Linked DNA regions of Homo sapiens: regions 1 and 2 are each linked to region 3. The links are contacts of gene promoters, found by promoter capture Hi-C in human tissues and cell types (Jung and others, 2019). All regions are on one chromosome and are shown on one strand. The core of a region is centred on a gene start or on the middle of the fragment in contact, and the rest is flanking DNA. Distances in the headings are between cores, read along the strand shown.

Region 1 (4,190 bases), core at 951-3,450, 40 kb after region 3:
TGTATTAATAGTTACCAAATAGAAGAATCCTAAGAGATGAGATAATTCTTACCATTTTCTTCATTCAAAAGTCGTTCAGTGCTGATAATTATTAGAGATCAGGTCTCACAAATATTTCCTATGTGATAACATTTTCATGGGCATTCAGGAGAAACAGTTTCGTGAGGGAGAAAGATGGAGTTGTGATGACTGGAATAAGACAAGAATAGATTGTAGATGGAAGACACAATCCATATTAATTTTCTACAGTCATAATCAGGGACACTAGTAATTGGAAGGGGACAAGGCAAAGCACTCCTTCACTATTCTCTCAGTTCTTGGCTTTGTATCTGAAGTGACCTCATAAAATATTAGGCACATAATATTGAACACCACTGGCTGAACAAGTAATTGATCATATCATTCCCCTCCTTTCAATCCTTCAAAGTCTTCACGTCATACCAAGAAAACTATCAAGTTCTTAATCCTGCTTCTGAAAGAAGCAGACACTAAGACAGGATTAACAGGCAAGAATTCTATTAGGAGAAATACTCTGTTTGAGAAAATAGGTCGAAGCTAGGTTAGACTGGGAGCACCATCAGACTGCAGTGCAAGTCTGACCAGAGAGGAGAGAGGGAAGGAAGTCTGAGTGCTGTACAGTCTAAGCAAGGCCATGGGGAGTCCTCAAAATCAAATTTGCTGTCAGAGGATGCCAGTGTCTTCCAGGAATTGTCCTGCCTTAGCAGAACCAATGCGCTCATCATTGACCGGAAGCAGCATGTTGAGAGCATAGGTTCATCAGAGAGAAATGTGGCAATGGATTTAAAAGGCAGCAGCTGGGGCCTTTGGTCAAGTATACTCCCACACAGTTGCAGATCTACAAGGTGTGTTTCTCATGGCTGCCACAGGCCACTCTTAGGCCACACAGATTTACTTTTATGCAGATTTGTAGAGTAGCTCCTCTGTGGTTTCTGTGGTCTTTCCTTCCTGTGGGAAAACTCAGAATAGGGAGGTGACTGGGATGAGCTACTGCTCCCATTGCTCCTGTTGATGTTGGGGCCATAACTGAGACTTACCCTGACTCTCCTCCACTATGCATTCCAACTCCCTTTACACTCAGCTATTCCCTAGGCAAGTCTTGGTAGCATTTCTGAAGTATCCAAACCCCTGAAAATCACATTTGTCTAAGCCTGAGGTTGCTACAAATGTCCATTCACAGATACAGCAAGTAAAGGGAGAACCAGGTGGTGACCAAATAGAGCACCTGTGTTTCATATGCATTCCTCCATGCCCCTATTGGGTAAAAACAGCATTGCCTCCTCTTGCTGATCAGGGAAAATTACTCTTGCCAGTAAGGTGACTCCTCTCCTTACCAGGGGTCTGGGAATAATGAGTTCAATGTGCTCTGGAGGCAGCCATAACTTATAGTTCAATGCTATGTTCCCTAGCAGAGCACGTGCCTACTGGGGACCCAGACTTCCAGCCCTGAAGAGTCCAGAGTTGTAGGGACAGGAAGCATGAAACTACCAGTATGTCACTGGGAGTTATGACAAGTGAGGCTATTCTTGCTTCTACCCCTTGATGCTCTAACCCATGCCTTTTTCCTATAGAGAATACAGCATATTGGATCTCTAGTTAATTAAATGCACTGCATCCTAGAGAATGACATCTACCTTTCAGTGTTTCCTCTGAGCTGGTGCTTCCATTGGCACCTTTAGAAGACTCTTCCAGACTTGTATGAGACCAGTTGCATCTGGTTGGTAGCGTATGTGATACAACCACTGAATCCCATGATCTCAGATCCACTTCTGTGCTCATTTCACTATGAAGTTGGTCTTATGGTTAGAGGCTATGCTTTGTGAGATTTCTTGCCTGTGGATCACTCATTCCATAAACCACCAAATAATAGAGTGGGACACACACAGTGTTGCCCTGGGACAGAAAAGGCAAACCCATATTTAGTTTAGGTATCCATCCCTGTGAACCTCTGGACCTTCCAGGAGTATTCCATGAGGAACGTGTCATGTTGGAAATTTATCACTGGTCTCTGTTGCTGGAAGGTTGGGTATTCAGAGGTAGCCATAGCTATATCAGCCTTGGTAAGTGGGAGTCCATGCTTTGGGGCAATGTCACCTCCATAATATCCTATAATGCCATCACATGCCTGGGGTAGTTGACAATGAAGGCTGGCTAAATCAATTCACCAACTCATATTATCTATTTCTTTTTTTAGTATCTCTTCAGGGATAGATGCTTTTTGGTGGGCATTAATAGGTGGTACAAAAACCTTTTTGCTTTGTGTTCACTCTCATATGTCTATCCAAATGCCTCTATTCAGAACTACTTTTCTCAGATCATCCAGTCTTTTTCCCCTCGAAGTCCCTGAGCAATTTGTTAGGACGATGGCCACTGCTCAGAAATATTTATATGTTCTTCCACACAAAGTGCATGAGAAAGTGCACTGCTCATAGCTCAGCCAATTTTTCATTCTCCACATGTTTCAGGGATATCTCTGACTATAGTTGTCAAACAAATGCCATCCATTTTTAGCTTGTACCCACATAATGAGATGACTGAGGTTGCAGCTGGGCCTTTTTACGTGTTTTGCTGGATAGTAAGCTATACTTGTGCAATGAGAGACTGTGAAAGACCTGTTTTGGCAGGGAACAATGATAGTGTGAGGTGCGCTGTGAACTGAACAGGGATTCTAGAGATCACACAGGACTGGGAGAGGTTGGAATTCCAGCCAATGACATGGAGAAATCTTCCGGAAAACTCAGGCATTCCTGAAGAATCCAGAAAGGCCACATTTTGGCATTGAGCTTCTCTAGCCCTAGAGCCAGGGATACTCTAACTGCCCTAACAAAATCTGAAACCAAGCTTTGATAGGATCAGGCTGGTCCACCAGTAATTTAACTGCTTGTCAGAAAAAAAAAGAAAAAAAACCTCAGCACTCTTTAAAGGAAGACAATAAAATACAGATTTTTAACAACGTAGCATTAACAATGTTTGGCATACAACAAAACATAATTAGATAGGCAAAGAATTAGAAAACTGTGACATAAAACTATGACAGGGAAAAAACAAATCCAGAGTTGACAAATATGTTGCAATTAGCAGAAAAGACCTTTAAAGCAGCTATTGCAAATATGTTCAAGAATTTAAAAATGGACATAATGGGTGGCCAGGTATAGTATGACAATGGAAAAATAAAACTATCAAAAGATGAATGGAAATGCTAGAATTGAAAAATACAATATAAGAAAAGACAAATTTAATGCATAGTTTTAACAGCAGTGCGTAAGAAAGGTCACTGAACTTAAAAACCAATTAAAAGAAACAATCAAACTAAAAACAGAGGGAAGAAAAAAACTGAAAACAAACAAACAAACAAACTACAGGACCAGAGATAACATGTGGGAACAGCAAGAGGTTTAATATATGTGTATTTGGAATCCAAAAGGAGAAGAGAGAGAGAGTGTAGATAGAGCAGAAAAAATATTCAAAGAAATTGGCCAGGTGCAGCGGCTTACCCTGTAATCCCAGCACTTTGGGAGGCCAAGTGGGACAGATCACAAGGTCAGAGGTTTGAGACCAGCCTGGCCAATGTAGTGAAACCCCATCTCTACTAAAAATACAAAAAAAAAAAATTAGCTAGGCATGGTGGCGGGCACCTGTAATCCCAGCTACTCGGGAGGCTGAGGCAGGAGAATCCCTTGAACCCGGGAGGCGGAGGTTGCAGTGAGCCAAGATTGTGCCACTGCACTCCAGCCTGGGCAACAGTGTGAGACTCCATCTTAAAAAAAAAAAAGAAAGAAAAAAAGAAAAAGAAATAATGCCAGCCAGAATATCAAGTGATGTTACTATTGAAGCACTGAAAGAAAAGACCTGTCAAATTAGAATTCTAAATGCAAAGAAAATACTCTTTAAAAATGAAAGCAAAATAAGGACATTTTCAAATAAGCAAATGCTAAGAACTTTCATCAACAGCTGACTTGAATTACAATAAATGATAAAGTTTTTTGGGTGGAAAACCATGATACCCAACGGGAGCATGGATCTACAGGAAGGAGTGAAAAACACCAGAAATGAGGAATATGTGGGTAAAACAGAAAAGTTTTCTGCTTGTATCTTAATTTCTTTAAAACAAAATTGACTGTGTCTTTATGGTAGAATGATTTATACCCATGTAACAAACCTGCACATATACC
Region 2 (3,976 bases), core at 653-3,152, 39 kb before region 3:
GAAAACAAAATAAAAAGGTCTCCCTATCCTGGAAGTTGCTGGAGATTCTGGAGAGCCATTCTGCTTTTCGAGGACACTCACACCAGGTGACAGCTCAGGTGAAAAGTAGCGCATGACCTAAGCTATTTATCTGACGCAAATACTCCCACCTCAGAATACTTCTGTGCTTTGTCTTTCCATTATGAACTTCCTACATAATGTGAATACAACACTAAAGTCTGTTTTGTAATATTTCATATTCTTGGTTATATTTACTGATTAGAGAGTTATTGCTTTTAGAAGTCAGTAAGTAAAACATTTCATATTTTCCACTTTAATAAAAAGTATATATATATATATAATTAAAAATATATGTAGTCCCGAAACAATTTTTTTATATTTTAGTAATTAAACCTTAATGTAAAAATATTTGCAACATTTCATAAGGTTTTTTTTTTTAGGAATGAGTTAGATAAGCTACCAAGATTACATATTTAAAGACTACTTGTCAGCTAAGCTATTTTTCTATGAATAAAGGATTGTTTTCTAGAATATTAAATATAAAAGAATATATTCAAGTTTCAAATCTTTGGGCAATCCAAATATGTGTCCTGTACCCTTTACAAAGGCTACAAGTAGCCTTCTCTCCTTGCTTGTAGACCACTTCCTTGAATTGACAGCAGGTATATTCAGAAGATGAAAATCAATTTTATTGTGGGTTTCTTATGCTCCTTAAAAAGAAGATTCTACAATAAAATAAATTTGGGAAACATTTTTGCAAATTTCCTTTTTCAGTAAACCACACAATATACATCAGCATGCTGAATGCTCTGATTAGTCCTGCAATAAATTAACCTGCTTAACCTCAATGTTAGTTCACCGGGTATTTCTCAAGCTTATTTGGCCAGAAAATTGTTTTGTTTTGCTTTACATCAAATCTGTAAACACCTGTGGAATTTTGCCTTAGAACATAATTTGTGTATCTTAAACAAACATTATTAGAAAAAAATTGCTGCTCAACCCTTAATAAATTTAAAAGTCAAGTGTAAATAATGTTTGAATTATCTATTGATTCTCTTACCCATTACCATTTTTGTCATCTCTTCCCTAGCCCCATGGGGCATAAGGCTCAAATCAGATGTCACAGATGGCACAGCAATGATTCATGACAATGGATAATATTTAAAAAAAAAAAGTATCAGGGACAAAGAAACACTTTAACAAATGGAAAATAACCCAAAAAGAAATGATTGGCTTACTTTAAACACACCTTTGCTATAAAACAGCAAGTGTTTTATAAAGTAATTTAAATAACTCTAGGTTACTGCTCTGTAAGTCTCAAGAGATAGAACTGACCTGAGATGACTATTGTTAATGCCATAGCTTTGATTAAATGAACTTCACTGTGACCCTAGAGTGATGGTTCTTCCAATGAGAAGCAACGAGATTGCTCAGTTATATGCTATCTCAGGAAAATTGCCTCTAATGTCACAACCATATGGAATGGAACTTTAAGATACTATTAACACATTTCTATATTCTAGGCTTACATACACATTTTAAGATTTAGGATTCATTCAAGTTAATAAGAGTGAATGTGCATATCTCATTTTCTGGTACATCCCTAATTCAAACCACAATTTTCCTCCAATAAAGTTCATGTGTTGAATGTGGAAAAAAAATTATAACAATTTTTGAAAAAAGGTGACACAAATGTTTACATGTCCTTCAGCTGAAGTTTTTCCAGTAATACTTTTGTAATAATTTTAATTTTCTATATTTCAACCAGACAAAAGCCACTGCATTTTGTGGGAGATAATCCTACAGAAGAGACTTTGGCTATTATAACTTTGGACTTTGGGCCAGGTGCGGTGGCTTACGCCTGTAATCCCAGCTCTTTGGGAGACCAAGGTAGGAGAATCACTTGAGGTTAGGAGTTCGAGACCAGCCTGGCCAACATGGTGAAACCCCGTCTCTACTAAAAATACAAAAATTAGCTTGGCATGGTGGTTTGTGCCTGTAGTCCCAGCTACTCGGGAGGCTGAGGCAGGAAAATCACTTGAACCTGGAAGAAGGAGGTTGCAGTGAGCTGAGATCACATCACTGTACTCCAGCCTGGTTGACAGAACAAGAGTTTGTCTCAAAACAAAACAAAAAGTTAGGCTTTGTTAACTTTTGGATTGGAGAAACATTTTTACTTATAGTAACTTTCCTTTAAGAAATATTATATATTAAAATGTTTTCTACCCTCAAATAGACTATTTGGCATTTTAGGTTCTTATAAATTTGAAAAAGCTTTATGACAAGCTGGCTCACATCTATGACACCTTATGACAAGTGACATATTTAGCTTATATTTACACTATCTCCAATGAAAGCCTCAATTTAAAACAGTGAATATGATAAAATTCAATGGAATAAAACAGCTAATGAGCAAATATTATCTTAGTTCTACTTTCAGTTTAAATATCACTGTAGAATTTTGGGCAAATACTAGAATGTAGGTTGTTTTGTTTTGTTTTGTTTGTTTTGTTTTGAGATGGAGTCTTGCTCTTGTCACCCAAGCTGGAGCGCAATGGAGCAATCTCAGCTCACTGCAACTTTTGTCTCTCGGGTTCAAGCAATTCCCTGCCTCAGCCTTCTGAGTAGCTGGGATTACAGGCGTCCGCCATCATGCCCGGCTAATTTTTTTGTATTTTTAGTAGAGACGGGTTTTCACCATGTTGGCCAGGCTGGTCTCAAACTCCTGACCTCAGGTGATCCACCCGCCTTGGCCTCCCAAAGTGCTAGAATTACAGGCATGAGCCACCGCGCCCAGCCAAAATGGAGGTTTTTTATAATAGCACTTTTTATTTACAATAGTTAATTTCTTGAGAAATAATTGTAAATAATATTTTAAAGTTCACCAAAATATTTTTTTTCACATCCATCCTGCAGTGAAACCCTTTTCATAATATACATAACCACCTCCTATCCCACCCCTGCCACACACACACCCTAGTTCATTTGTTTTGTTGTTCACATTTTTGTGTGTCTCATATTCATAAGTCAGGTCACAACCTGATGGGAAATATGTATTGGCTCCAACATATAGAGACTCTTCTAATGTTGTTTACATGACTCCATAAATTTTCTCCATGGTACCATTGGGTAACAAAAAGTTGCTGATACCCTATTTTCTCATAGAAAAGCCTGAAATGACATGTAGACATTGTCATGTTGAGGCCTGAGTTTTTCTTTTTGAATCCTGTGGTATTTTCCCCAAAAAATTTGGAGAAAAGAATAATTTAGAATACCAAATTTACATGCCAAATTCTAGAATTTCATTTTTTTATTTGATTATAGATGACTAGTTAAAATGACCAGTTCCTAATATGTAACTAAGAAATATTTATGACAACAATATCAGTATAATTAGTGTAGAAATGAAAATATTTAATACTTGGAATGTATACTAACTTTCTGGAAAATTTTGAAATACAAAAAATGTATTAGAAATGATGTCATGGAAAATATAAAATTGACAATTTTATTTGCAATTGTGAATTGCAGGATTTTCATGTCTTTTTACTATTTACAAAGATAAATTCTCTGATTCAAATCAGTAGGACTTCTTGACCCAAACTTCAAAGTCCACTATCTAAACTTAGGAAAATCAGTGTGATTTTCAAGTTATAGTACTCTTTGAAAGTATCTCCTCTATGAAAGTCAATATTCAGATTACGTATACAGAAAAACTGTAGAAAGGTTTAAACCTAATGATAGGAACTATGTTAATTCATGGGGGAAGTTCTGGAGATATTATTAGGTGCTATGTGTTGTCTTCCCTGGCTCGGAAGGACATCACCAGAATGCCCCCGTGTCTGGGCAGCCTCGTGATCCAACATTCCCTTTCCTTAATTCCATAAAGACGTTTAATTGACTGGGTTGAAGTGTGCTAAGTTGTCTTAATGTTTCAAATTCATACATGAAACAATCTGGAATCTTCCCCCAGGAG
Region 3 (4,051 bases), core at 1,135-3,634:
GACAGTTTAAGCTTAGAGTCAGGATGGAAGTTGAACAGGCTTTCTCTTTGTTTCTGAACCCCACATCCTACCTTACCTATGCCCATCGGGAAAGTGAATTTTGTTTCTCAGAATCAATACGTGGCCACATAAGGTATTTTGTTTTACACAACAGATAATGTGTGATCTGAATTTTATGACAGAGTTAATATTTTGAATGCAGCAAATATTTAAAGGGGTCCTGTAACAAATTAGTTTCTTATCTAAGTAATTGCCATCTTTTATGCCTTACAAGTTCAAGCAGGGTTTGCAGTACTTCCATTAAATTAAATACCTGTAAAGAAAGCCTTTTGGTCTTTGTTAATATGAGTTGCATCATTTTCCTGGTGTTGGTCAGACAGCATTCTCAGTTCCCATGTGAGCTCCAATTTAGACTCAACAATGAAGAATGGGACTAGTGCTATGAGGTGACTGACCCAGGCCTGTAGCATAAATGGAGCATATCACCACTAGTTATGGCACCTCCTTAGGGTTCTCCCAGATCAACATCTCAGGGGAAAACACACAAGATGGTGTGGCTGCAGGAAGGGAAATTGCTCAGGTTCAGGTGAGTAAGAAAGAAGAAGAATGAAAGATACCTCTTTGGCTGCTACCAAATGAGCTTAGCCCCAGGAGCTCAGGCTGAATCAGCCTGTTAGGAGGACCCACAGGAACCTCCGCCAGTGCTAGCAAGTGGGCAGTGCTACAGTGTGGCATCATCGGGTGCTGAGACAAAGATCAAAAGGCCGCCTGAAGCCATTCCACTGTTGGTATTCAGAAGAAATTTGGTGTACTCTTTGATCTGCTGGTTGGCTCTTGTATCACAGCTACAATCTCTAAGTTTGGCCCCCACATGCAAAGACAAATGAAAATGGAGAAATACAGGATGAAAGGTTTGAGAGTGCTAGGTCAGGCTGAATGTGTCCCATGGTGTGAGCTTAAATTTTTGGCCCCCAAGTAAAATTCTTCAAAGAGTAACTCTCCTGCCCTCTATCCCCAGAGATGCCTTTATCAGGAAACACAAAGGAGGGAGACCTACTACTATGTAAATGGAGGCTACTTGGAGAATGACTATGTCTGAGGCTGACCAGTGTCTGCAGGGTTCAGTCACTTTGGAGTAAAAACTGAGATTAGAGAAATAAAGCCAGTAAACCACAGTAAGCAAGTTTATTATACATCATCACGAGTTCAAAACAAGTAGGATTTTACTAAAAATCATTCATAAGAATTAAAACTTTTCATATTATCCAAGCTCTTTTACTATGAAAGTTTAATGAAAACTACAGAAGAAATATCACTAATTATGCTCCCTAAGTAAAAAAAAAAACATAATTAAGTTTATAAAGAGTCAGTAATAATGTTTATTCTCGGTATCATAATTTTTGGACACTTCTGGCACTCTCTCATGGGTAGATAGGTTGTTTAGTAAAATAAATAGAAAACACACATTTCCTACCAGCTGACATTGATGGCTAAATCACAAAATCAAGCAGGAAATGAGTTTGAAGGCAAGCCATATTTCACGTGACTTACATTTGCAGATTACTGCTGATGGTCTCTCCAGGCTTATAGACTTCAGCCTGAAAATCAGGAAGCAAAGAATAATAGCAAAGAAGAAAAATTTAAAATCATTCAGTAGTGTAACTCCTCTCCCCGCTCCAAGTCATGGAATAAGATTCACTCTTACAACAAATACTTCCTACCATCTAAGTTTAGATGAACTTTTAAAGAAAATCCCCAAGTATAGATCCTATGAGAGAAACTAATCACTAAATCAGTGAAATGCCAAAACATCTGAAATATGTATATGTATTGATGTATTTCAATACAAATGTGACATTAGGGATAACCATTTGTTCTCTCAAATTTACGAGATACAGTTATCTTTGCCAAAAACGGAGAGCATCTCAGTTCCCTTTCTGTTCCCACCTAGTTCTCAACAGGACTAAAGGACTTATCCTATGCCTAGTTTTTCACTCCCCTCAGAGGGTCAGGTGAACTGGGGAGCAAGAGGAACTGGCGCCTTTCCCTACTTCTCTTTCAATTCGTTTATTGAGGTAAGTGGCGAGGGCCTGGACTGAGGAAGCTTGAGAAAGACTGATGGAGGAAGGGCTGGCTGTAGGGGTCAGGGAAGGGGCTGCCTGAAGAACAGCCTGCCTCTCCAAGGAGCTGAGGAAGTCCGGTCCCAACCTCGCCCCTGCCGTCACGAACCTCGGTGCACTGGCCCAGGGAAACAACTCCAGTTTTCCGTTCCGCCGAAGTCAGTCCCCCACCGGCGGCAGGTGCTGGGCGTTGGCGCTGCCCCCTCCTCTCTCAGTGATTCCGAAGCCTGGCTCCGCCGGAGCGGAGACAGGGGACGCCGAGAGCGTCTCCACGGAAACAGAGAGGCGAGGCATGACGGCCGGGGGTGGAGTTAGGCTAAACCGGGCCTCGGGATTGGGGCAGCTCCCAGACTCTTCGGGCTTGGGGGCGGAGTCTGGCGAGGGGTGGAGCTTACTGACGGCCGGGCGGGGCCCCCAGATAGCTGAGGCTTTTCAAGCAGGGCTGCTTTCAGAAGTTAGCTCGCTTTTAGGCATTTTCACGTAACCCAAGAGGCTCGAATTTGCCACTTTCATTTCTTTCGTGGCCTTGCATTCTCAATGCTTTTTCTTCATTTCTCTTTTGTCCACAGGATTGATGGGAAAACGCTGAGCTAGGCATTCATGATCCCCGTGACCTGAAGCCAATTTATCCATCTAGCTAAGTCATTCATTCTCCTCTTCCTCAGCCTCTCTTGCAGTCAGAACCCACCACAAATGCCTTTTCCTGTCATGTCCCCACAGACAATTCAATTTTGAATTGTGGTTCGCTAAATACTCAAGGTCTCTTTCAGAGAATCTCCCTGCATCTGTCCTTATTTGTTTTGCATTTTTACCTGAAACTCAGGGTTTTATATTTACACTAAATAAATATCATCGTATTAATCTCGGCCCATCATTCCATCTCTTCTCTCAGACATGAGTGCAAGGAAGTGAAATTCCTTGCTCATTCCCTCATATATATATGGGGCAAGAGAGTGAGGCTTGCCACTTGTTACTTCTAAAATACAGAAGTGCTGGAAAGTTAGGCTATTGTTCCTTGTCTACTGACACACATTGTAGGAGAACGAGCCAGCGATATTGCTCACACGAATCATTCTATTAACCATAAATCGATTCTATTTAGAGTACAAGCATATCAACCATAACCACACTTTCATTCTAACATCTCATTTGCTGTAACAAATTACTAAATTATTTCCAAGTATGTTTACATTATACATTCAATGAGCACTGTGACTATCTGTAATTGGGCTCCACCCCATCCCCCACACCAGTAAGACTCTCATTCTATTCTCATGAGTTTATTTTCCAGTTTCAGCATCACCTTAACACACTCCACTGTGACCTGTGTGAATTCTTTTCCAGTCCTTGCTGCTTTTTCTGACTTAGAGTCTGTTTGTGAATTCCATGCACCTTCCTTTCTCACAGGAGGCTGTCTTAGTTGGCTTTCTAGGTAGTTCCTTCCTGCTTCTTTGGACTTACTTCTCCTACTTGCTGTTTTTTCACTAGAAGTTCTTTGACTAACTCTCTTTCTCCTTCTGTTTAGCATAGAATTCCTTCAGTTAGAGAACTTTGTTTGCAAGTGACAGAAAACACAAACGGGCTTAAGCAAAAAAGGAAACTGATGAAAACCAAAGGATGCCAGATTCAGCTGCAACTTTATCTAGAAACTCAGGCCTTTCTGAAAGTTTTGAGGATTCCAGAATACCTCTTCCTTTCACTACACAGAATTAATTTCTCCTCCTCTCGCCTCCTTTCTCTTAGACCTACCTTGATTTTATCAGTATAACTTTGCATGGTGTTTGGCTTATGGGAACCAAACTTGCCTGAAAGATTGTGAGTACCTTGAAAGCAGAGACTTTGTTTTATTGTTTTCTGAATTCCCTTGTACCGTATGCAAGGATTAGTATACAGTATGTGCTCAAAAATATTTTTTGAATTAACAGAATGAC

What was found. The method cuts DNA at HindIII sites, captures the fragments that hold promoters and counts their contacts. A contact is called where the count stands out against the background at its distance.
Region 1: a fragment that was not itself captured here is called in contact with the fragment with the promoter of TTC29 in region 3 in 1 of the 25 tissues and cell types used here (spleen).
Region 2: a contact is called between a fragment that was not itself captured here and the fragment with the promoter of TTC29 in region 3, in 1 of the 25 tissues and cell types used here (adrenal gland).

What each region holds. Positions count from the first base shown.
Region 1 is chr4:146,984,150-146,988,339 of GRCh38, forward strand. It overlaps LOC105377475 (a long non-coding RNA gene), which reads right to left. Exons shown (of 5, transcript XR_939315.3): 5 at 1-189. Among named protein-coding and RNA genes, the nearest start is that of TTC29, 40 kb to the left of the region's middle. The HindIII fragment of the contact is 7,005 bases long and covers 1-4,190 here.
Region 2 is chr4:146,905,001-146,908,976 of GRCh38, forward strand. All of the region lies in intron 5 of TTC29 (tetratricopeptide repeat domain 29), which reads right to left. Among named protein-coding and RNA genes, the nearest start is that of TTC29-AS1, 27 kb to the right of the region's middle. The HindIII fragment of the contact is 5,691 bases long and covers 1-3,976 here.
Region 3 is chr4:146,943,480-146,947,530 of GRCh38, forward strand. TTC29 (tetratricopeptide repeat domain 29) reads right to left here and starts at 2,385. Exons shown (of 13, transcript NM_031956.4): 1 at 2,230-2,385; 2 at 1,552-1,598. TTC29-AS1 (TTC29 antisense RNA 1) reads left to right here. Exons shown (of 7, transcript NR_188447.1): 3 at 1,952-2,075. RefSeq lists a silencer at 2,378-2,517. The HindIII fragment of the contact is 11,756 bases long and covers 1,058-4,051 here.